Linked DNA regions of Homo sapiens: all the other regions are linked to region 1. Evidence: promoter capture Hi-C in 16 types of primary human blood cells and fetal thymus (Javierre and others, 2016). All regions are on one chromosome and are shown on one strand. Each heading gives the region's core, a stretch centred on a gene start or on the middle of the fragment in contact. The rest is flanking DNA. Distances are from core to core; before and after follow the strand shown.

The links. Contacts are between HindIII fragments. The CHiCAGO score rates a contact against its expected background, and 5 or more counts as called.
Region 2: the fragment with the promoter of KANSL1L here is called in contact with the fragment with the promoter of CYP20A1 in region 1 in 1 of 17 cell types (neutrophils); the score reaches 8.3 in neutrophils.
Region 3: a contact is called between the fragment with the promoter of IDH1 here and the fragment with the promoter of CYP20A1 in region 1, in 4 of 17 cell types (monocytes, neutrophils, naive CD8 T cells and 1 more). The highest score is 12.6, in monocytes.
Region 4: a fragment that was not itself captured here is called in contact with the fragment with the promoter of CYP20A1 in region 1 in 2 of 17 cell types (monocytes and neutrophils); the score reaches 16.3 in monocytes.

Annotation. Positions count from the first base shown.
Region 1 is chr2:203,235,562-203,241,164 of GRCh38, reverse strand. CYP20A1 (cytochrome P450 family 20 subfamily A member 1) reads right to left here and starts at 2,147. Exons shown (of 13, transcript NM_177538.3): 1 at 2,031-2,147. The coding sequence starts at 2,102. RefSeq lists enhancers at 1,427-1,716, 1,540-2,111, 2,397-2,446 and a silencer at 2,117-2,326. The HindIII fragment of the contact is 4,599 bases long and covers 1-3,264 here.
Region 2 is chr2:210,168,540-210,174,658 of GRCh38, reverse strand. It overlaps KANSL1L (KAT8 regulatory NSL complex subunit 1 like), which reads left to right and starts at 3,250. Exons shown (of 15, transcript NM_152519.4): 1 at 3,250-3,510. RefSeq lists enhancers at 2,321-2,954, 2,955-3,590, 3,984-4,163, 3,591-4,225 and silencers at 3,034-3,363, 3,484-3,793. The HindIII fragment of the contact is 7,802 bases long and covers 1,452-6,119 here.
Region 3 is chr2:208,250,425-208,256,320 of GRCh38, reverse strand. IDH1 (isocitrate dehydrogenase (NADP(+)) 1) reads left to right here and starts at 1,250. Exons shown (of 10, transcript NM_005896.4): 1 at 1,250-1,382; 2 at 2,362-2,435; 3 at 4,754-4,891. The coding sequence starts at 4,770. IDH1-AS1 (IDH1 antisense RNA 1) reads right to left here and starts at 1,088. Exons shown (of 2, transcript NR_046452.1): 1 at 890-1,088; 2 at 127-418. RefSeq lists an enhancer at 1,016-1,542 and a silencer at 1,996-2,105. The HindIII fragment of the contact is 4,060 bases long and covers 1-2,980 here.
Region 4 is chr2:208,272,365-208,278,039 of GRCh38, reverse strand. It overlaps PIKFYVE (phosphoinositide kinase, FYVE-type zinc finger containing), which reads right to left. Exons shown (of 42, transcript NM_015040.4): 3 at 4,307-4,456; 4 at 1,210-1,328; 5 at 332-503. Among named protein-coding and RNA genes, the nearest start is that of PIKFYVE, 8.9 kb to the right of the region's middle. The HindIII fragment of the contact is 3,746 bases long and covers 1,119-4,864 here.

The DNA of each region.
Region 1 (5,603 bases), core at 898-3,397:
ATCCTTCCAGATACCAGGCTAAAAATAACTGGTGTTTTCCTTGATGCCTCTCTTTCACATTTCACATCCAATCCACTGGGAAATCCCATTGGCACTATCTTCACAATTGACTAGTTCTCATTATCTGTGCCACTACTACCATGATCCAAGCTGAAATGATAATATCCTCCTAATTACTTGGCTTGCTTCCATCCTTACCTGGAGACCCATGTCAATTCATGACTTAGCAACCACAATGATTCTTTTAAAATTTATCTAATAAAATTAAATTTGAATTCTATCCAATTTCAAATGGCATTCATCTGCTGAAATCCTCCAGTGGCACACAGCAAAAGTCCATTAAAAAAGCCTTACAAGTCATTTAAAATTTGTCCTTCACTCCCATCTTTCTGACTTTCTCTCCTCTGGTATCTTCCTCATTTACTACACTCTAACCACACTGGTCCCCTTGCTTTCCAGGAACACACCAGGCGTGTCTCCCTCTGAAGGTTTGCATTTGCTGCTCCCTCGACCCAGAATGCTCTTTCTCAGAATGGCTTGCACCTTCACCTTCTTCGCGTTTCTACTCAAATGTCTCCGTATCTCCTGGCCATCCTACTTTAAAATAACAATCTACCTATCCCCAACTTTATTTCTACCCACAATCCTATGTTATTTGTTTCTATTGTCTGTTCCCCTTCTCTAGGAAATAAATTCCAAGAGTCAGGAATTTTCTGTCCGGTTTGTTTCACGGCTGGATTCCCAGCACGTGGAACCATATCTGGCACATAGCTAGTGCTAAGAATAAACAGTGTGCTTCTATGAGCTGATCAAAGAAGAGTATCATTTTAAAATCACCAAAAATTCAAGAACCACTAAAATTGTTTAGTTTCTCAGAAAATAAGATTTCAGGAAGTCCCTGATTGTGTAGTTGCAAGATTCTAGTCTAATCCATTTACCTGCTCGGAAAAGAACATTTAAGAAGGTGTATGGTCAATTCCAGCAGTTCAGCTACTTTTCAACTTTCACTGTAAAACCACCACCTTGCTTTGTAGAACAGGTGTTTTTTGTTTGTTTGTTTGTTTGTTTTGAGATAAGAGTCTGGCTCTGTCGCCAGGCTGCAGTGCAGTGGTGCGATCTTGGCTCACTGCAAGCTCCGCCTCCCAGGTTCAAGCGATTCTCCTGCCTCAGCCTCCTGAGTAGCTGGGATTACAGGCGCCCGCCACCACAGCCAGCTAATGTTTGTATTTTTAGTAGAGACGGTGTGTCACCATGTTGGCCAGGATGGTCTCGATATCCTGACCTCGTGATCCGCCCGCCTCAGCCTCCCAAAGTGTGTAGAACAGGTTTTAAAGACGGTCCTCAGTCATCAACACTTTTGTTTTCAGACCCTCCCTCTCTCGCTGACGGAGGCAAGTGGAGAGAGGAGGACCGGAGGCTCGCAGAGGCGTCAGCGGCAGAGGAAACCTCGCACCCGAACCCGCAGCGCGGCGCTCTCCCCAAAGAAGCATTTGCCTGGAGCCCCTAAGAGGAGCAAGACCTGGACCTCGAGCACTTTGGATTCCAGTCAGGATAGATCGATGGACAGATGGAAAAGAGGAATACACAAGTGCTGGGAGAATCCTCAAGAAAGGAGAAAGGAGTGGCGCGCCCAGGAGTCTCGTCCTGACACACTGGGAAATGAAATTTGGGTTTGGCGAGTTATGGCCAAAAAGCTGCCCAAAGTACTTGAGAGCCGCCTTGGAGAGTGGCGCGGGGTGCCTGGCAAGGTGAGACCGGCCTGCGGGGGCGCGGGCTTTTCCTCAGCAGCTCTACGCCCGCCTGGCCCGGCGCCTGAGGGGTAGCGACGCAGCCCACGTCGCTCTCAGAGCTTGCCGGGAGGGGCGTCACGTGACTCCGGGTGCGGTCCCCGCGCTGAAGCTCTGGAGCGAACCCGAACCCTCCTCTCAGGCCCGCCCCCTGCGGCCCGCAGCGGGCAGGTTGGCCTGGATGCCGGCGACAGAGAGACTGGGGCGGCGCCCGGGGCCCCAGAGAGCCAAGACGGCGCTCACCGGATAGAGGTAGAGCACGGCTCCCACCAACGCCAGCAAGAAGGTAACGGCGAAGATCGCGAAGTCCAACATGGTTCTGCCGCCCAGGGAGCCACGTCTCGGATCGGCCGCTCCAGCAGCAGCGCCTCAGCCTGGCCCAATTTAAGGCATAGCGTGTGGGCGGGGGCACCCCGCGGGACCCGGAAACCAACGGGCCGCTGGGGGCGTGACCGAGGCCTGCGGCCGGCGCCAGAGGAAAGAGCAATGGATCGCCGAGGAGCCGGGGCGCGGGTTCCTGAGCGCAGCAGGCCGAGGCTGAGGCCGCCTAGCGCCAGCCTCCACCGCAAGGCGGGGATTTCGGTGCACACGATTTCAGACAGAATATGCCCGCGACTTCGGACCGGGTTGCTGGCGAAAGCAGAGCCCAGCTTTCTGAGAAAAGTTAGGAGTTAGTAGTGCTCTGTCCGCCCAACAGTTTTCGCAATGGATTCAGAATTAAAACCTCTAAACCGATGATTTTCGAAGAGTGGTCCCGGTACCAGCTGCATCAACGTCGCCCGGGAGCTCGTTAGAGATTCAGATTATCGATGCCGGGCGCGGTGGCTCCACCTGTAATCCCAGCACCTTGGGAGGCTGAAGCGGGAGGATCGCTTGAGCCCAGGAGTTTGAGACCAGCGTGGGCAACATAGTGAGACCCCAGTCTCTACAAAAAAAAAAAAAAAAAAAAAAAAAAAATTAGCCTACAGTGGTGGCGCTTGCCTGTGGCCCCAGCTGCTCCGGAGGCTGAGGCTGGAGGATCACTTTAGCCGGGGAGGCAGAGGCTACAGTGAGCCGAGATGGCACGACTGCACTCCAGCCTGGGCGACAGGGCGAGACCCTGTCTCAAAAACAAAACAAAACAAAACAAAAGGAAAACAAAATAAAAAGATTCTCGATCCCAAACTAGACCTACTGAATCAAACACTCGGGGTGGGCAGGGGTAGGGGGCGCGTACAACAATCTGTTTGAACAGAGCCCTCCCGGGGACACTGTTACACACTTAAATTTGAGTGAAAACCACCACTGATCTAAGCGGGACAGGGAAGTGTCTGGGAGTAAAACAAGAGTAGATACGCCTTGTTTCGCAGAATTTCTGTCTGAAGTACTAGTAAATGTGATTCTTTGACACTTTCTGGTGAGCGGAGGCTGCACACTGTTCAGGTTTCCTTGCTCTGTTAACTCTGACTTTCGGTAAATTGCTTCAGTTTTCTAAGCTTCCATTTCCTTCTATGTAAAAAAGTGAAAATAATACCACATGGAGTTGCCTGTAGGTTAAATTACATATTTTATGAAAATCACTTAGCACAGCTCCTGGCAAAACCGAATAAGTGCTATCTACGTCAGCATTTGGCGTTTGTTGCCCTGGGCATAAAATACCCTAGGACCCCTCTTTCTATTTCGCCTGGCTCAGAAGTTTTGACGTGGCTACTGAAATACAAGACAAGGCCTGCTACTTACTAGTGCTGCTTTTAGTGAAAGTGTGCTAAAAGTATTTATAGATTTTATAGCTTTAATAATATAAAATGTCAAGAACAGGCAGCAATTTGGCAAGAGAAATTCCAGATTGCATTTTACAGCTTCTATGATAAATGACTGTTACATAAGCAGGAAACATACCTCATTGAAAATGGCAACTCTTTTGGCATCTATAGCAAATATAATGAAACATGCTGTTTAATATTTCACTTGGCAGAAATTGTATTTTTAAGTCTTTCTCTGCATATAAATGTGCTTTAAACTGTCGTATGTTCAAAGTTCATTTTTAAGTCTCTTGTTCAGAATTTTAAAGATATTTCTTGTCAAACTGATGTTCCCAATAGGTTTTCAAAACAGTAAATGTAAGAGTTTTTTGTTTGTTTGTTTTGTTTGTTTGTTTTTGAGACGTAGTCTCCCTCTGTAGCCCAGGCTAGAGTGCAGTGACGGGATCTCGGCTCACTGCAACCTCCGCCTCCCAGGTTCAAGCAATTCTCCTGCCTCACCCTCCCGAGTAGCTGGGATTACAGGCACGCGCCACCATGCCCAGCTAATTTTTGTATTTTTAGTAGAGATGGGTTTCACCATGTTGGCCAGGCTGGTCTTTAACTCCTGACCTCGTGATTCGCCCCTCTGGGCCTCCCAAAGTGCTGAGATTACAAGCGTGAACCACCCCGCCCGGCCAAACATAAGAGTTTTAACTGCATAAGGTAGCCATATAACCGTAATCTTAGGTACCGTAATCTTAGGTACCAATCCTTCAAGATATCTAGAATTCTCTTTTAGTCCTAAATTGACCTACATCCTGAGACTCTCTGAACTTTGAGGGCTGTAAAAAAGAGACAAAAATTCCAGAAATTGTCAGGGCACCATATTTTATAGTGTGAGTCTCTAAACTAGACATCTACCTCCTCTTCCTGTGTTCCTAAAACGTTTTGCCCAGATACTCCCTAAAAGCATATATAAATAATATATATATAATATATATATACACATACACACATATATATCTTTTCACACATTTTTTGTATTGACATCTAAAATTTTTATCTTGACTTTAAAGGATTAAATTTCTGTCATATTATAAATATTCACGTTTTGAAATTGTTACAGCTCTCTTTTAAGTGTATGAAAAGGAATGTAAATATAATAGTGATGTGATAACTATAAGACTTTTTTTAAAAACACACAAACTTGGCCAGGTACGGTGGCTCCACCTGTATTCCCAGCACTTTGGGAGGCGGAGGCGGTCAGATCACTTGAGGTCAGGACTTCAAGATCAGCCTGGTCAACATGGGGAAACCCCGCCTCTACTAAAATTACAAAAATTAGCTGGGTGTGGTGGCATGCGCCTGTAATCCCAGCTTCTCAGGAGGCTGAGGCAGGAGAATCACTTGAACCCGGGAGGCAGAAGTTGCAGTGAGCCAAAATGGCGCCACTGCACTCCAGCCTGGACAAAAACAAAACCCAAAACAAAACAAAACAAAACAAAAAACCCATACACTTTTTGTGAACAACTGGAAATTTTCCATGGTTCCTTTTTCTGAACTTATTTTTATTGCACTTATCCGACAGAATTTTATTCTAATGAAATTATTTTTATCCTTGAAAGTAATTTTCTTCATCACCTGTCATACTTCTTCTCTTCAACATGTACTCATGTTGAATTAAAAAATAGTTTTTGGGGCCAGGCGTGGTGGCTCATGCCTGTAATCTCAGCACTTTGGGAGGCCGAGGCGGGCAGATCACGAGGTCAGGAGATCGAGACCATCCTGGCTAACATGGTGAAACCCTGTCTCTACTAAAAATACAAAAAAGAATTAGCTGGGCGTGGTGGTGGCGCCTGTAGTCCCAGCAACTCAGGAGGCTGAAGCAGGAGAATGGCATGAACCCGGGAGGTGGAGCTTGCAGTGAGCTGAGATCGTGCCACTGCACTCCAGGCTGGGCGACAGAGCGAGACTCCGTCTCTAAAAAAAAAAAATAGTTTTTGGGCCGCACACAATGGCTCACACCTATAATCCCAGGACTCTGGGAGACTCAGAAGTTCACTTGAGCCCAGGAGTTCAAGGTTATAGTGAGCTA
Region 2 (6,119 bases), core at 2,001-4,500, 6.9 Mb before region 1:
ACATGTGTCAGGCCCTGTCCTAGGCTCTAGGGATACAGCAATGAGCGAACCAGCAAAAGTGCCTGACTTCATGGAGCTTATGGTCTAATTTAGGGCGATAGACTACAAAAGTAAAAAAATCAAAATCTATGTTACATTACATGCTGATAAGTGCAATGGAGAAAAACAAAGTAACAAAGGGGGATAGAAAAGCCCCTTCTTGGCTGTGAGTTGCTTGAAATTAAAGATTGATCTTTCTCCTTTATCTCTAGCATTTATCACAGTGTCAGCTATACTAAGTGTTGCATGAATGTTTCTTGAGTGAAAGGAATGACTGAATAAAAACCAGTGTTGAAGAGAGAAGTTTATCTCATGAAATCATTGTAATACTGCTTACCTGGACATTTTTTAAAGCTTCCAGATAGGTAATTATTATGTCAGCAAGAATGGTGCCCTTTACTTCTCCTTGTTCTTGCTGGATTTTAAAGTGTTCTATTCTTACCACTGTTATATTTTTTCTTGGAAATCAGAATGCTTTTAATGTACCTTCTAAATGATATGTCCTTGATTTTAAAAAAACATTAACTACATGCACTTTTCAGGCTGTTGCTGAGTAATATAGAAAATAATTTGACAAATGATTCAGTATATCAATTTTTGTAATAAGGAGAACTGATATTCTATAGTGTCTGGAAAACTCGCATGTATATGCTACAAATAATAAAATCATGCTTTAGAACAATATTCAGTGTCAAGGGATAGTGTGCTTAACATGTAGCTAAATGGGATAAAAAACCAGTATGCACAGTGTCATACATATAAAATACAACAGACTTTGCATATGATTGTGGTTTTCTTCTTTGTGCTTTCCTATATATTTTATATCAAACCTGTATTATTTTGTTAATCATCTCCCCACATTCCTATTAAACCGAATATAAAATAGGGAAAATGTACATGTATGATAGCTTGATAGATTGAAATATTTATTTAAGGTCTGTAACATTTAGCAGGCGGCAGGGCTGACTAGAAGATAAAAGAATTAATCTGGAGCGGCCGGGTGTTGTGGCTCACGCCTGTAATCCCAGCATTTTGGGAGGCCGAGGCGGGCAGATCACCAGGTCAGGAGATCTAGACCATCCTGGCTAACATAGTGAAACTCCGTCTCTACTAAAAATACAAAAAAAAAAAAAAAAAATTAGCCGGTCTTGGTGGCGGGCGCCTGTAGTCCCAGCTACTCGGGAGGCTGAGGCAGGAGAATGGCATGAACCCGGGAGGCGGAGCTTGCAGTGAGGCGAGATCGCACCACTGCACTCCAGCCTGGGAGACAGTGTGAGACTCCGTCTCAAAAAAAAAAAAAAAATTAATCTAGAGTATTGGAAACAGCCTACCTCCCACGGCTATGTGATGAACAAATTACATAATATATGTAGAAATGCTGTATGAATCACTATTTGTGTAGTTACAAAGCTTAATCCCTTTGTCATCCTCTATAAACTCCATGAGGACAGGGAATTTGTTTACTAATATATCTTCATTAGCCATCACAAAACATGTGTTCAATAAACATTTGGCAAATATATAAATATTTTGTTTGGTAGCAAAAAATTATTTCACAGGAGAAAACTACCATTAAATGATTTGATGTCTCTACAGTTCCTTCAGGTTAAAATCTGAATTCCTGTCATTCAAGATTTACTCAATCTAGTTGACAATGTACTTTTCTGCCCCCCAAATATTCACACAACATCTCCTCAAACCACCCAAGGACACTATCTCCTGAACTATTGATGCCTTCCTCCTCTCTCTTAAGTCTTTTAAACGTCCAACTCAAATCCAGAATCTTCCTTTGATCTATCTTAACACATGCTTATTAGATGTCTCAAACTGCTAATTAAAAAAACAAAACTTTAAAAAATACTTTATTCATTTTTGCATTTCTGTCCCCAGGGACTAGGACAGTCCTTTGAATATGGTAAATATCCAATAAATACTTACTGATTTAATTATTTTTCACAACACATCATTAGCTTACAATTTTTATTACAATGAAAGTAAATCAATTTCCTAAAATTCTTCCCTTGCCCCATATCGAGGTGCAATTATTCAGTAATTAAAAAAATATAGCTCCAATAAATGCAGCTGGTCATAAAAATTATTTCAGTAATATCACAATCTACTAGAAGAACCAGGAACGAGTAGCTAATTTTCCAATTCCAGTTATCTATGTTACGGATTACGCTTTGTTATGACTGCAATTCCTTGGATTTCTCCCCTCTTCCGCCCCCGGGATCTTATCCAATTGATAAGGTTAAAATAATGGCTATTATCCTTCTGGCTTAAAAAGCCTAGTGCTCTTCGTTCCTTAAATCATTTCATGTGTAAATTCGGTGCTTAGGAAAGACTGTGATACAACATCTAAGAAGCTACATTTAGAGTTCAGTTTTAAAAAAATCGAGTTCTTGGCTGGGGAAGTGCCCAGGTGCAGGTTTGTTTTGTGGTGAGCGGTTCGCGGGGCCAGGTGCAAGACGCTCAGAAGTGTTTTTGGGTGTCGCTGGCCAACTATCTCCACATAAACTCCGTTTGTTTATTTGACAGCGTTACTGCAGAGGGGAGTTAGGTCCAGCGCCACTCAAACCAGATTTGTAGAGACTTAAAACTGCTTTGTCTGTTTTTTTTTTTTTAATCATAAAACCACCCAGTTGGATCCAAGGCAAATTTGTCACCTACTTCAGGGCCCCTCTGAGGGTCAGAAAGAATTATGAGCGCATTTGAACGCACGGCCCAAATAAAAGCAAACGCACGGAGACTTGCGGACTTGACAATTGTGAGAAATCTCTTAAAACTCGCCTGTGGAGCGGCGGGCGAAAGCCGCGGACGCCAGCAGTAGTCGAGGCCCCGGCGCGGACGGCAGGGAATGAAGTCGCCTGACTTTTCCTCAGGGTTTTGTTTTTCTGTCACGGAGGTACAAAAATAGCAAAGCAGGGGTGGGAAGTCTCCTGGCCGTGTTTTTTTTTTTCCCCCTCGCCAGGGATGGCACTGGGAAAGAGAAGGGAGGAAGCAGGAGCTGCACGGAACCCGTCCCGAGGGAGCCGAGGTAAACCCTGCACCAGAGTTAAGGGAGTCGTGCTCCTGCCACTTCCAGAACACTCCGAGCCGCTTCTGCAGGCCCCGCCCCCTGCCGGGGTTTCCCCGCCACCCGCTTCATTTGCATGGCGCTGCCCCTCCCCCGTTGCCATTGGCTAGCGCCGGGCCCCGCCCACTGCTCCCAGACCGCGGCAGGGTTCCGTCCCCCCGAGCCGCACGGAGCTGCGGGCAGCGGGCGGACTGTTAAACCGCGGCGGCGGCGGCGGCGGCGGCGGCGGCGGCGGCGGCGGCGGCGGCCGGGGCGGGAGCGGGGCGCGCTCTGGAGACGAGTCAGCGGCGCCCCGGGTGGGGGAGGCGGGCGGGCAGCTAGAGATCACCTCAGCAGCCCCCACCACGGCCGGACCGAAGGTGCGGCGGCGGAGGGGAGCCAGGGCGCCCCAGCAGGCGAGTGGCCGGCGTCTCAGCGGCGGGATGACGGGGGTGGGTCTTCCCTCTTGGGGACGGCGGCAGCGCGGGGAGGGGAGAAGACTGCCGGGTGGACTTGCGGGTCAGGCGACCGACCGGCAGCCCCTTCGCCCCCCGAATCCTCTGGGCTGCTGGACTCTGGTCTCGGCACGGGATCGCGCTCTAGGGCGGGGGTCTGACCGCAGCCAAATTTAAACGGCTAAACCTAACAGCCTTGGCAGCTGGGGAGGGAAGGGGTCTAGGGAGGGGTGGGGGCGGACCTGGACGCCGGTCACGTGGGGGGTGGGGCTTGGCAGACCTCCCTTTTGTTTTGGCTGGCGCGTGCGCAGAAGGCAGAACACGTGGTTTCCTGGACCCGCCTCTTGCCTCATCGGCTGAGCCTCACCCATTGGGGGTGTGGTGACGGCTCTTTTGAGGCGGCTCTGAGGCGGAGCCCACTGGATTTGATGAGACCCCTATTTTATTTATTTCACACTTTCTTTCAGGAAAACGTAGATTTGGGCTTTAGAGTTAGATGGGATAGAGCAGAATCTAGGGGATTTTTGAGGGACGGTGCTTCCAAGTTTGTGTCACCGGTGTGCTGAGGAAGGGACCGGTCTTGCTGGAAAAAGTCAGATTGCGTGGTGTTTGGTAGCAAGAAATACCAGGCGGTATCCTGGCCGTTTCAGAAACCACAGGAAAGGAAAGAGGCTGGCTTTGCAGTCGGGAGGGCAGGCACTGGATGGACGTTCTTGTAATGTTTTCTTACTCTGGGAGAGTCCGTTTTTGTTTGTTTTTTTGTTTGAACTGTGGTAAGCACATTCCGTTTTTGATTCCCCAAACTTCAGGACATTCATGTTCTGGCGAGGTTTAGGAGACAAACTTCCTTCGTCTTTAGCCAGTTTGCTTAACTTCATCTGAGTTTGGGTCAGTAATAATTTTAAATATTGCTGGATGGGGCAGGTTTGTTAGCCACAAAACCTAAGTGAAGTGAGCACTGCAGACAAAACTGGCAATTTCTGACTAGGAAAAAATGACTCTAAAAATAATTCAGTATTGAGAAAGAGGCTTAACAGTGAGTGGTCTCTGCCTTTCCCGTTCTTAATAACTAGCCATTTCTTTGGGTTAGTCACCTCTCTGATGTCAAACTTGTTTCGTTTTTGTAAAGTTTCATAATATGGTCTCTGTCTTAAGAGATTGTAAGAAAGAAGAAATGCCTTGTATTAGGAAAAGTGATTCCTAATCTCTACCAATTGCCAAGTAGTGTTATTTTTATAACAAAAGTGAATTTTTTAAAAGCCCACATGTTGGGGAAATATAAACAATGAATTAATCATGAAATAGAATATATTTGAGTATCTTTAAAATCTGTTGTAACCATTATCTTTGGTTCTCCCTCAGTTTCCACCTACTTAGATCAGTGTCAGCGTCTGCAACCATTTCCTCATGGTTTTAATCTACATAGATTATTCTCTCCCGCAAACTGTCTGGAGTAATTTTTTATGTGAAACTTCTTAATCCAGGCCAATTCTCTCACATTGACTTTTAACATTTACATTTTAATTTTGTTTCATGATGCGCCTTTGCAAATAACAATCGATTATTTTGTTAAATCTTATTATTATAAAGTAATTGGAAAATAGATGAGTGCAAATAAGAAAACTATAAATATTTTGTACTTTAAATATTTCTGTCTGCATATATGTGTATTTTTCCTAAAACTGAGACCACATGGTATTTTCATTTAACTCAGACATTCGCATATCATTATTCTTTGAAAAATATTTTTAATAGCTGCTTAACATTTCGCCATGTAACTATCATATTTTAAATTTTTTCTGTTGGCACGTATGTGGGATGTTTCTGGTTTTGCTAGTGTATATTTCACTACAGACAATATCCTTTTACATAAACCTTTGAAATTTCCCCCCCTTAGATTTGTAGAAGAGGAATTACTGGGCCAAAGAGTCTGTTTTTGTTGTTTGTTTGTGTGTGTGTTTTTTAAGGCTCTTATGTCATCACCAAATTACAGAATGTTGTATTGATTTACAGTGATCTAGTGGTATGTGTGTGCCTCCCATTATGTCTTTGTTTATCACCTAGTATTAGGCTTTAAAACTAAAAACCTTGCTTTAATTTGCATTTTAAATTTTTTCACTCTAATCTGTGATGTATCTTTTATTTTTTAACTTATTGTAAAGTGCTTGAGAGAAAGAAATATATTTCATGTTTGACATGCTGCAGATCACTTAGTGGGTGCTCAATAAATACTTGCCAGTGGGCTAATATTTATCTTTTTTATCTATGGAAGATCAGGAAATTGTCTTTTGCTTTTTGTTTTACTCAGTTTACTAGTACATTGTTAGTAATATACTATTATTGTTGGATTCATAACTTTTACTACTTTTTCATTCAGGTGAGGCCTCAGTGATCTGATCACAGTTGTCTACCAGAAGGTCAATTAACTTCTCATAGCCCAACTGCTGCATTATCCAAGAACTTCATCCAATTTTGATGCCATTTATCATGATACCTTAGATTATTTCATTTCCTTTACTCATTCATCTGTCTTCTATGAAATTAACGTAAAGGTTTCACTGATCAATGTA
Region 3 (5,896 bases), core at 1-2,500, 5.0 Mb before region 1:
ACTTGAACCCAGGAGGCGGAAGTTGCAGTGAGCCGAGACTGCACCAGCCTGTCAGGGCAAGACTCTGTCTCATAAATAAATAAATAAATAAATAAATATTGGAGCATTAAATTCTGGGCAGCAATATACAAGCATGCTATTGTCCTACAAATCACAATATAAAATACTCTTTATTTTCATGTTTTTGAGAGCAATGAACACACAAAATATAATCTCTGGAGGAGACTAAAATTCTTTTTTCAATCCACCGTTTTCTAAGGCTTCACATCTCTAGTCCAACTTCATTGGATCACAGATAATCCCCCGCCAACTGAGCATGGTGGCTCACGCTTGTAATCCCAGGACTTTGGGAGGCCGAGGAGGGCCAATCACTTGAGTCCAGGAGTTCGAGACCAGCCTGGGCTGCTGAAACCCATCTCTACCAAAGGAAAAAGAAAAGAAAAGAAAGAAAGAAAAATTAGTTGAGTGTGATTGTGTGCACCTGTAATCCCAGCTACTCGGAAGGCTGAGGTGGGAGGATCTCTTGAGCCCAGGAAGTCAAGGCTGCAGTGAGCGGTGATCGCTCCACTGCACTCCAGCCAGGGCAACAGAGCAAGGCCCTGTCTTAAAAAAGAAAATAATAAGAATCCCATTCATTATCTTCTAATGCAAACAATCAATGGAGTTTCTAAAGACCTAGACATAGGTGGTGTCAGGACCTGCTTCTGTAACTTTTCCATCCTTTGCATTAGGCAGCGCGGAACCCCCTAGGCGACCCCGCGCTGGCCGGGAGCACTCTTTCTTCAGCCAAAGGTACGTTCCATTACCGCCCCTCGGGGGCGCGCTAGGCAGCGGGCCGGCCAAGCTGCCGCCGCCCAGGGCGCCCTGTCCCGTTCGCTTTTGTGCCGACCTGGAAACACTCTGTGGTGCTCTAGATTGTTACAAAGTTCGGGGTGGTGCAGCCCCAGCGCGCCCCGCTCCCCGGCCTGCAGGTGGCATACAAGTCTCTTCGCTGTCGGGATTCGGGACTGAATCTCTGCCGGGCGGCAACCCCTTCCCCCACCGGGATCACCGGGAAAGTGGCACCATGGATTCTCCATCTTTGACTGTGGCCACGCCCCTCTCGCTGACTCCGCCCATCCCACGGGAATTGGCGTGTGGCGATTGGAGGCGTGTCGGGGGCGGGGCTGGGGGAGGTGGGCTGAGGAGGCGGGGCCTGGGAGGGGACAAAGCCGGGAAGAGGAAAAGCTCGGACCTACCCTGTGGTCCCGGGTTTCTGCAGAGTCTACTTCAGAAGCGGAGGCACTGGGAGTCCGGTTTGGGATTGCCAGGCTGTGGTTGTGAGTCTGAGCTTGTGAGCGGCTGTGGCGCCCCAACTCTTCGCCAGCATATCATCCCGGCAGGTAACCTCAGGCTCCAAGGGGCGGCCCCGGTCCCTGGCTGTGGAGGGGTGGCTCTAATTCCGCAGAAGGCAGGAATGGGGTAAAGGAAAAAAGCGCAGATCTTGGGTGTGGAGGGAGTCAAGGCCTGCGTGCAAAGAAGGGAACAAATCCAGGTATTGAGAATGGGAAAAGAAAAGGGAAGGAGGGGATGCTGGATGCTTGGATATGCAGAAGGTCTGCTTTTGGGCCTGGGAGGGAGAAACTGGGCGGTGAGGAAGTTGGATGCAACGACAAGGGGAAAATCAGGTCTGCACTTGGGTTGGAAAATCGAGGGGTGGAAGTTGCAAGAATGCATGTAGAAGACTAAGCCTGGAGTGTAGGAGGAAGAAAACGTGCAGCAGCTGGGGGCTGGATGCAAAGAAGGCTGTAAGCCGCAGACGGGCGTCTGCAGGCAACTCAGGCGGCGAGGAATAGCCTTGAAGCCGATCCCTCGCGTCCGCCAGGGGGCGTGGAGGGGCGGAGCTCCAGCGGCCTTCAGAGGGGTCGCTAGGCCACACGGGGCGAGAGGGGGCTGGGGGAAACACCCCCGCCAGTTCCGGGTGCCTGGAGTTTAAAAGGTCCCAGCACCAGCGAGGGGAGGGGAGGGGAGGGGCGGGCGTGGAGACCTGGAAGGAGGTACCGATCCAGCCTTGATTGCAGCCCTCTTGCACAACGGCCATAAGGACGGGTGCAGGCCAAGAGCAAGGACATGCAAACCCCAAGACCTGCTAACGGGCGGCGAAGCGGGGGCACGCCCTCGCACACGCAGAGATAAATTGTGCTCCCATGACCTTTATTTGGAAAGTGCCTGCGGGCCTAAAATTGGCCTTTGTCCCACCGAGTACACTCAGCACTGTACTTTAAACCGGATAAACTGGGCTGTCTGGCAGGTACTAAAAACAGCTAAATTCTCCTGTGAGTGTTCTGTATGTTAACACTTTTATTCCTTGTTTTGTTTTAGGCGATAAACTACATTCAGTTGAGTCTGCAAGACTGGGAGGAACTGGGGTGATAAGAAATCTATTCACTGTCAAGGTGAGAATTAGCAAATTTTCCCCCTTCTTCTGTACTTTCTTTGATGTGGCAGTACAGTGTTTAACTGGTCTTGGGGGCAGGCCGAGGCACTGCAAGGGAATGAGTGAGGAATATTTCCAACAACGAATTCCAACAGCTTCCTTGTTTCTTTTAATACAGTGTCTTATCTGCAAGAGATCCTTTTTGCCCAGAAATTATTGTAGTTCATGAACTCGGCAAAAAACAATCTGGCCAAAAACTTGAGGTTGATGAAAATAATATTAAATGGCTCTTTTTTTTCATTAAACTACTCTGTATTGTTATTCCAGGTTTATTTTCTGGAATTGCACAATTATGTTAGGAGATAGGATTCAGCTACTTCATATGAGCTGGTGCCTGCTGGTCTTGGAACAGCCCTTCCTTCTGAAGTTGGGATTGGGTTGGAGACAAAATCTGAGGGGCAACAAAGGTGGAGAAGTCAGTCCAGTGGGGCCTCAAGCCCATCCCATGGAAATCAGATCCAGAAGAAATACAATTATGTTCCACATGGTAGTAACAATAAAGCTTCACTGTTTTAGTTAAAAGATGGTAAAAATTTCATGGCTAAGTAATGTGAGGAAAACCTGAAGCGTCTGAAGTATGCATTATGAGATAAAGAAAGATTACTGCAGAGAGTACAGTTGCTTTAACTGAGAAGGAAATAGTGAACTAAAAAGATATCAGTCTTCACATTTTAGGTACAATATTTGACCTCTATTAACTGTATTTGCCATCAAGAATAAATTGCCATGTCATGACTGTTGCATCATACTATATAGGGACATGGCCATGGAAGTGTATTATCAGGAACCAGATAAGTTCACTGCCTCCTTTTTTGCTTTGTTTTAAAACAAGGATAGGTGTGACAGTGGAATCAAACATGAACTGAATCATATGCTTTCAGCTGTACTACAAATTATACTTGACATTACAAATGGGAAGTAATTGACTCATCCACACCATTCTGTTCATTTCTTTTAGTCTAGTTCAGTTCCAGAAGGTTCCCCCAAAGGAATCTCCTAAACACTAGTAAGAAGAATTCTAGAATTGCGAATTTGGGAAGTGAAAATGGGCCTGGGGATTGGAAATACATCCAGGCTTGTCAAGAAACAGACGCTTACTGTCTACTAATCATTACATTTTTATTTAAAGACCAAATTACTTTAGCTCAATTTTTCAAGAAAGACTATTTTAGGCTTCTTATCTAATAATTCTTTAAAGTCAATTCTCTTGACTTTTTTAGTCCTTAAGAGAATAAAAGCAATTTGCAGCTGTGTTGTTGGATTAAAAAAGAGTTTCGATTAGAGCATCATTAGAAGGAATAGATAACTTTTAGCAGGCTCAGAGCTTCTTCTGCCTCTAGGGACAAGCTGGGACAGTTTCATTTCTTCCAAAGCGTCCAACCTTGCACTTTCTGAGAATCAGATTGATTTGTATATGCTACCCCCACACCCTATCCTTAAAGTGCTGTCTTCCTAGGACAATGCACAGTTTGTCCTATCCCACTCACTAGCAGCTTACCCTTGCCTGTGAACAGCCAGAAGAAGATGACAGGGACATGCTTGGGTCCTGGGCAGTGGCCCTACTGTATAGAGATTCTTCTAATTGAGAAATCACTTTGTTGTATTTAGCCCCACATCTCCAATGTCTGTGTTATCTCTAGGAAAACAGTTCCACCAGGAATTCTTCGTCTCGCTTTTAGACTTAAAGTTTCCCTGAATATGGGTCACAGGAACCAGCTGAATCTCCTCATGGCTAGTTATTTTTATTAAATAACAAAAACAGCCTCTTAAAGGAGGAGAAATGCTAGCACTCACCATTCTGGACATCTTGAGAGCCCAGTAAAATGATGAGTTGGACTGAAGTGTTCAATAAACATGAGATTGTGGAAATAATCTCATTTCTTAAGACAAACCAGTAGTTGAGAATAATGATTGCATTATGAAGGGCACGTTATAGGGTCAGGCTCTGCCACGCTCTAGCTAGGTGGCCTTGGGAAAGCTCTTTTTTTTTTAACAAAGTAAAATGGGGAAATGATGGCCATTTTTTTGGATTGTTATGAGGGCTAGCTCAGAAACCGCGTGTGAAACATAACACAATACTTTGTTCAGAGAAGATACTCAATTCTAATGGTAAATAGAATTGCTGTTACTAGCTTTTTATTCAACTACACATAAATTGAATTGCATGAATTGTTCTTTTAGTAGTCACTACGTTGTTTATATAAACACTACGTTGTTTATATATTTCACTTTATAATGAAATAAATGACAAGGCATGTATTTTTTTTTTCTTTTTAGGTTTATTGAAGTCAAAATGTCCAAAAAAATCAGTGGCGGTTCTGTGGTAGAGATGCAAGGAGATGAAATGACACGAATCATTTGGGAATTGATTAAAGAGAAACTCATTTTTCCCTACGTGGAATTGGATCTACATAGGTAAATGAGTTACCCCTCCGTGTAGCAAACTCAGAAAGGATAATCTGGCTGGGCATGGTGGTGCACACGTGAAGTCCCAGCTACTTAGGAGGCAGAGGCAGGAGGATCCCTCAAGACCAGGAATTCAAGTCCAGCCTGGGCAACAGAGTGAGACCCCATCACTTTAAAAAAAAAAGGAAAAAAAAGGGAAGGAGAAACAGGAAAAAAAAAAAGAATATAATCTGAATTATTTTGAGGTGAAGTTAGCTTTTTTTATATAGATATAGCTGTGTTTTGTGAATAAAGTTTGTTTTAAGCCTAAATATATTCAGATGAATCTTCTAATTTTAACATACTGCTAGAAAAACTGGATTTATCATCTAAAAGTCAAGAATTATAAGGGAAAGAATGATTTTCAGATTCTTCTAACCTTCTGTTTCCTGTGAAGGTTTTATTTGTAATAAAACAGTGGCTAAGAATAGTACAATGTATTGAGAAAAGGGAAATAAGAGAGGATGTAAGAAACAGTAAACTAAATGCAGTTAACACAATTTTGTCATTTCAAACTCAATTTTCTATCACTTTACTTAGTCAATGGACCTGTTTCCTTTTCATGCCTCACCTTTTGCCCTTTTCATACAATTGTAGTGCAGAAAGAATTCATGATGTTTCTTAGTTGAACCCCTCCTTTCCAGCAAAATTCCCTTAAATCCTGTGTCCCTTTGCCCTGTGTGTAAAGTGCCTGGGGACAGATGCAAAAGTCTATGTAATTCTCTCATTTTTTTCGCTGTGTTTTTCATAAACTTGCTTCTGTTCTTTGTACCTTTAGGTAGAGATAGAATTTTTAAAAGGGTAAAGTGGCTGAAGACTGGCATAGAAAAATATTGAGCAACACGTTTCAGCCAAACTATTGGCAACTCTAAGTGTGTTTGCCTCAGCCCAGAATTAGTCATCAAAATTTGTCCTAAGGACCTGTTTGAGTGGAGACATTTAATTCACATAATGTCATTAAACATACTTTTTAAT
Region 4 (5,675 bases), core at 1,742-4,241, 5.0 Mb before region 1:
GAAGATCTGTCCTTTTAAAATGAAAACTCTCATAGTGATTTAAATTAGTAATCTACTCTAACGATCTTGTCTAATAAATTTTAATGTTCCTATAGTTTTTTGCTAGCATCTACAATAAATACACTTTTACTCTAGTTATTTATGATAAGTCCCATCTACTGTATTATTCAATAGGAAAGTTCTTAAAAGCAAAGCTGTCTCCCTCACCTTTGTGTCCCCATGTCTTACACATAAAACCCAAAATGAAAATTGGCTTAACACTATCCTGTATTATAAGTGTCTTATAGTTATGACCTTTAAAAATTGTAAACTGGCAATAAAATGCATTTACCTGTATAGCCCATAAATTTTCCAGGGATTTCTTGATTACAGCAACGACTGCAGAAAATCTGCCCACATAGTCGGCAATGGTGTCTGCGCCTAAAGGTTGTAAATTTCTCACTACAGTCATAGCACTCTTTACATTGGCTATCTGGCATCCAGTATTGTTTCAGGTCACTATCCTATAACAATAAAAATGTGTGAAGGCTTCTTGAAAATACTGATTATTAATATGCAATGGCAAATGAAATCCTCAAAGGTTTCTTTTGCAGAAAACAAACTAATTCAAAAATTCATATGGGAATACGAAAGGTCAAAATAACCAAGACAATCTTGAAGAAGAACAAATTGAAGGACTTAATATTACCAGCCATCAAGACTTATTCTTAATGCTACAATAATTTTAGACAGGGTACTGGTACAAGGATAGAAAAAAATAAAGGTATGGAACAGAAAAAGAGAGCCCTGACACACCCTCACACATATATGGACTTACGGTGGAATTTATAATGCAATCAGTGAAAGATGGTCTTTTCAAAAACAATGGTACTATATCCAACTGGACATCCATGAGGAAAAATGGAAGCCTGACCCCTATACTTGACAGAAATAATAAAGCTTCTTGAAGAAACCATAGGAGAATATCTACTGCCCTGAACTAGATAAACACTTCTTAAACAGAACGCGAAAAGCACTAAGGATAACGGGAAAAAAACTGATAAATTAGACTACAATAAAATTAAGAACTTATGTATAAAAATAGGGTGCTCACAGCTGGAGGAAGCGCTAATTAAGCTTTCTTTCAGTGGCATTAAGCCATTTTCATTAGGTATGGCATGATCCCCATAAGCGCTTAATAAGTAATCTTCCAAAGCCTCTAGACAGTACCTGGCTTTTCCCCTCCATGATTTCCTTGAGGCGTTTTAATACTGTGCTGAGGCTTCGAAGCTGAACAGCTGTACGAGGGTCATGACCTCCAAAGGTAGGTTCTGCTTTCCTTCTTGTGTCTGAGTTGGATTAAAAAAAAAGCAACCTTGTTAACAGTCCCTAGTATCTATATACAACAAGGTATATATGTGATGGAAACTGCCTCTTATTGTTGGCATATAATTATGTTCTCCCACCCGGTTATATGAATTGAGAGTTAAAACAAGTCTTTATAAGGGTAAGAGGCTACTGAAAGTATTTCTTCTCATGTAAAATGCTGTTTTACAAGCGAGTCAAGGCTGCCTAAGACAAGCATTGTCTGAGACCATTGATGGTTTTCAGGCCTGGAATGGGAACATCACTTAAATGGTCCAAAATTCATTAATGACTCCTTAAGCCCTTTGGTCCAACCTATAATAAATGCATGCTAGAAATTTAGCAGAAGAAAAAGCAATCAAGGAGGGTTAACTTAGCTTGGTCTCTAAAGTCAAACAGGTAAGCAATAGGATCAAACAGTTCAGTTCTGTCTATATCTGTAGACCATATATCCAAAGTCTCATACAGAAGATGATCAGAAAGAAGTTTAATAGCCCAGCCTTCAAAGATTCTGACAGACTTCACAACATCCAGGATGGCAAATTTTGCCATGGTAAAACCTGACCTATGTCCAAGCAAATTAAAACTGCCAGAAAATTGCTAAAACTCCAATCCTATCCTTCCCTGTCACTTCCCCAACCCCACAGCTCCAAATAGGAAAGGATCATTTATACCTGACATAGCAATACTGAAGCCAAATCTATCACTAATAAGCCCAAATTCCAGCCTCATGGCCAAAATAGGGTATGCCCACCAAAGTTGTCACTTATTATTTCCTTAATTTAGACCAAAATTACAACTGAAGTTTCTGCCTATTTCTGGCAGTTACAAAACCTAAGCATGAAGCAAAGACGTTTTGACAAAAAGGATGAACATCCTATTAGCTTAAACCCATCAAACTGATAACCTATGGCAAAGTAAACTGGAAAATACCCCACTCTGAATCTTCCTCAAACTCACCATTTGCTAGATAGGTGCTGTTTTGGCTGGGAGGGAAAAAAAAGAATTACAAAGAAATGAGAGGTTGGGATCTAAAGTTTACAAAGAATTTCCCAAGATAATGTAATCACTGAAGTAACTACCAAAATTGTACCTATTTTAGAAAACTTTGGCAACTTTTATCTTTCTATAAAGTTATATCTTAATTTTAGCACATACCTCAGATGTGTTGCTACTGTATTAGAATAACTAAACTTGAGTCTCAAAACAAAAAACAACTCCCCATGATCTACAAATTGAAAAAGAAGACAGATGAAGCTACTGGAAACATAATGGCTGTGCTTCCGTGCAGCAGGCAAAAACTTGTGAAGTCCCTGGCATTTAGCCAATTAGGAATATAAGAAAGTAGTAATAGCATCATCCGCTGAAAAAGGATGAGTGAGACCCTTCTTGGAACCAAGAGAATCACAGATGTTGGCTGAAGATGAAAGAAACCCAGAGAGAAAATCTGGTCTAGCTCTATGCCCTTAGGCAAATAGCCTTAGCTGCTTCTCTTGCAAAATGAACATTAGAAAATTAAATAACTTTCCTAAGGTCGGAAAGCTAGTAAATTATAGAATTACAGCCCTTTTAATAGGGAAAAGAACTTGACTGGCCAAATAACACCAGGCTTCTGAAGCTCAAATGCCTTCAAGATAGAATCAAATAATCAAGCAGACTTGAGAAGGACAGTAAGGAAACTAGACAGTAAAGGCTCCACCTGGAGATATTAAAGTTCAAGTTGATCATAATACCAATGGCAAGGTTTGGCAGGCTGCCAATTTGTAACTCCTAAAATATTACATTTTAGTCTAACTTGATTTTAGAAATAAAAAAATCCTACACTCAATTCAGCATGGGATTTAGTCAAAACAGCTCCCTCAACAAAAAGAGTGTTGTTGTGAGTCAGATTCAAGAGCTAAGGAGAGTTTATTGAGGTTAAAAGTTAAAATAGAGATTATCTGGAATAAAAGGAGAGCTCCTTTCTTTCTCCCTCTCCCACTCCCCATCTTCTGATTCTTCCCTCCAAATGGCTGATGTAACCCTGGCTGAGGCTCACTGCCCTAGAAAACCTGTGCAGGTGATGCAGCCAGCTCTGTGCCAGTCCTCGGGTAGAAACTCTACTTTTGCTCAGTTTCTCTTTGTTCTGGCTGACCAAGTCTGAACTCACAATAAAATATCCTTCTGCCAACCACCACTATCTGGGGGAAGATCAGCCACACCAGACGAGATCTGGTGTTCTGGGGCATCTAATTCCCAATGCTGCATCCCTTCCCCTCTATCATGCCACCTCCCACTTCCTTTGTCACCTTGACTTAGGCAAACCACTCCAAGTTGAAAAATCTGACAGAAATAAAACATAAACCACCTCTCTTTTTCTAATCTCTCAATTCTGACACCAATCCCCAGCCCATACTCATCAGAAGAGCATGAAAATGAAGGAGATGACTGTGTAGTAGACCAGAATGGAAAACAGACAGATGAGAGGAGCTCAGCTTATTCAGCCACACTGACAGTTTGCACCCCAACAAGGACAGAAGGCCAAGAGCAAGTGGCAGCCCAATAATGGAGTTGACAGAGTTCTGCAGCCAGAGGCATGCATATCACATTTCACTAGCACCCCAAGAACAGATGCAGAATTCATTCACAAAGTGGAAACTAACCTGTGTTCTCCTGGGGATGTTGCAAACTGTTGTCTGCTGAAACCCAAGCAAGTAATTAATCAAAAAATAGTCAAGAAATCTGTGCCTTGCCTAAATTAAAGTTTAATGAGACGTTTAAGAATTTTTTCAGGTGTCAATAAATTCTTTCACTACCGAGGTAAGAGTTTTATTTACTCTAAACAGTACCTGACTATTTCAAATAGTATCTTACTATTCCAAATAGCAGGAAAGTTAAGTCCTGCTATAAACAACCTAGGAAACACAATGACTGTGGAAAAATCTAGCATATAGAAGGGAATGAAATAAGAACACTGTTTTACCTAATGCTGAAGAGCGCCGCTGGAGTTCCTCATTAAGCTGCTTTTTATAAGGTGTGGGTGACCTAACAGACTGTGTCCTCGAAGGGAGCTGAGGGCTGGTCCAACTTCCACTCAAAGGCTGCTGTTCTCCCTGGCCTCCTTCTGCTCTCTCTGTAGCAAGGGAACGCTTGGCATTATTTAAAGACTGAGAGTTCAGCAATGAGAAGGAAGTAGATGAAAATTTTCAGGCAACAATGTATGCATGTATTATATGCGTAACTAAAAATTTTTTTTTTCCTTTTTCATTTATTTAATTTTAAATACAAGCAGGTTCTCCCTATGTTGCCCAGGCTGGTACTGAACTCCTGGCCTCAAGCAATCCTCCCACCTCAGCCTTCCAAAGTGCTGAAATTACAGGCACAGGCCACTGTGCCCAGCCTAGATTTTAAAAAAAGAAAATTCAAAGAAGGAGGCAAAATTACAGGCCAATAATCACACCCTTGGTATATATGATCTCCTATTTGTTTCACTTTTCATTAGAAATTTCTTGAGCATACTAAAGGAAACAAAATGCAAGCTTCATATGAAGGCAGGGATTTTTTGGGTCTGTTTACTGGACAGATCCCTTACACTATCAAAACAGTTCCCAGTACAAAGGAGGTACCCAATAAACATTTGCTAAATAGAAATTTTATTGTCTTATGACAACTAAGTGTAATGTGGTATGACAAATGGGATCCTAGAATATAAAAAGAACAACTGGTAAAAACTCAAGAAATCTAAATAAAATACGTAATTTAGTTAATAATCTATCAATAACAGTTCATTAATTGTAACAAATGTACCAGACTAATGTAAAATGTTAATATGAGGAAAACTGGGTATGGGAGTATACGGAAATTCTATCTTCCCAATTTTTCTGTAAATCTAAAACTCTTCTAAAAAATAGTTTTTTTTTTTAAGTATCATTGTCTTAAAAATGTACTAAAGGGTTTTCATAGCACTTTAAACATGATCATAAATAAAATTCAGTTAATATTATTAAAGGTTCTACTGAGTTAATTAACACTATTAACCTCTCCAAATTCTATACAACAACAAGAATTACTTTCTAACATACTTCAAGTAATACAGACAAACAAAAGACAAAAGATATAGGCCATGTTTTTTAATTCTTGTCCCAAGTAAAAGACATATTACTTAAAAAGAGCTCATTTTAAAAATATCTTTCCATTTGATGTCATTACATGTACACCTTAGTCTAACAGTTTTAAGTCAACAAGAAGCCTACTGACAGCTTCCAATTTTTGAAAAATATAAACCTTTCCTCCCATGTACTGTTCCTTTCAGTTTCATTGCTTTAAATATTTTAGCTATTAACCCCCAAAAG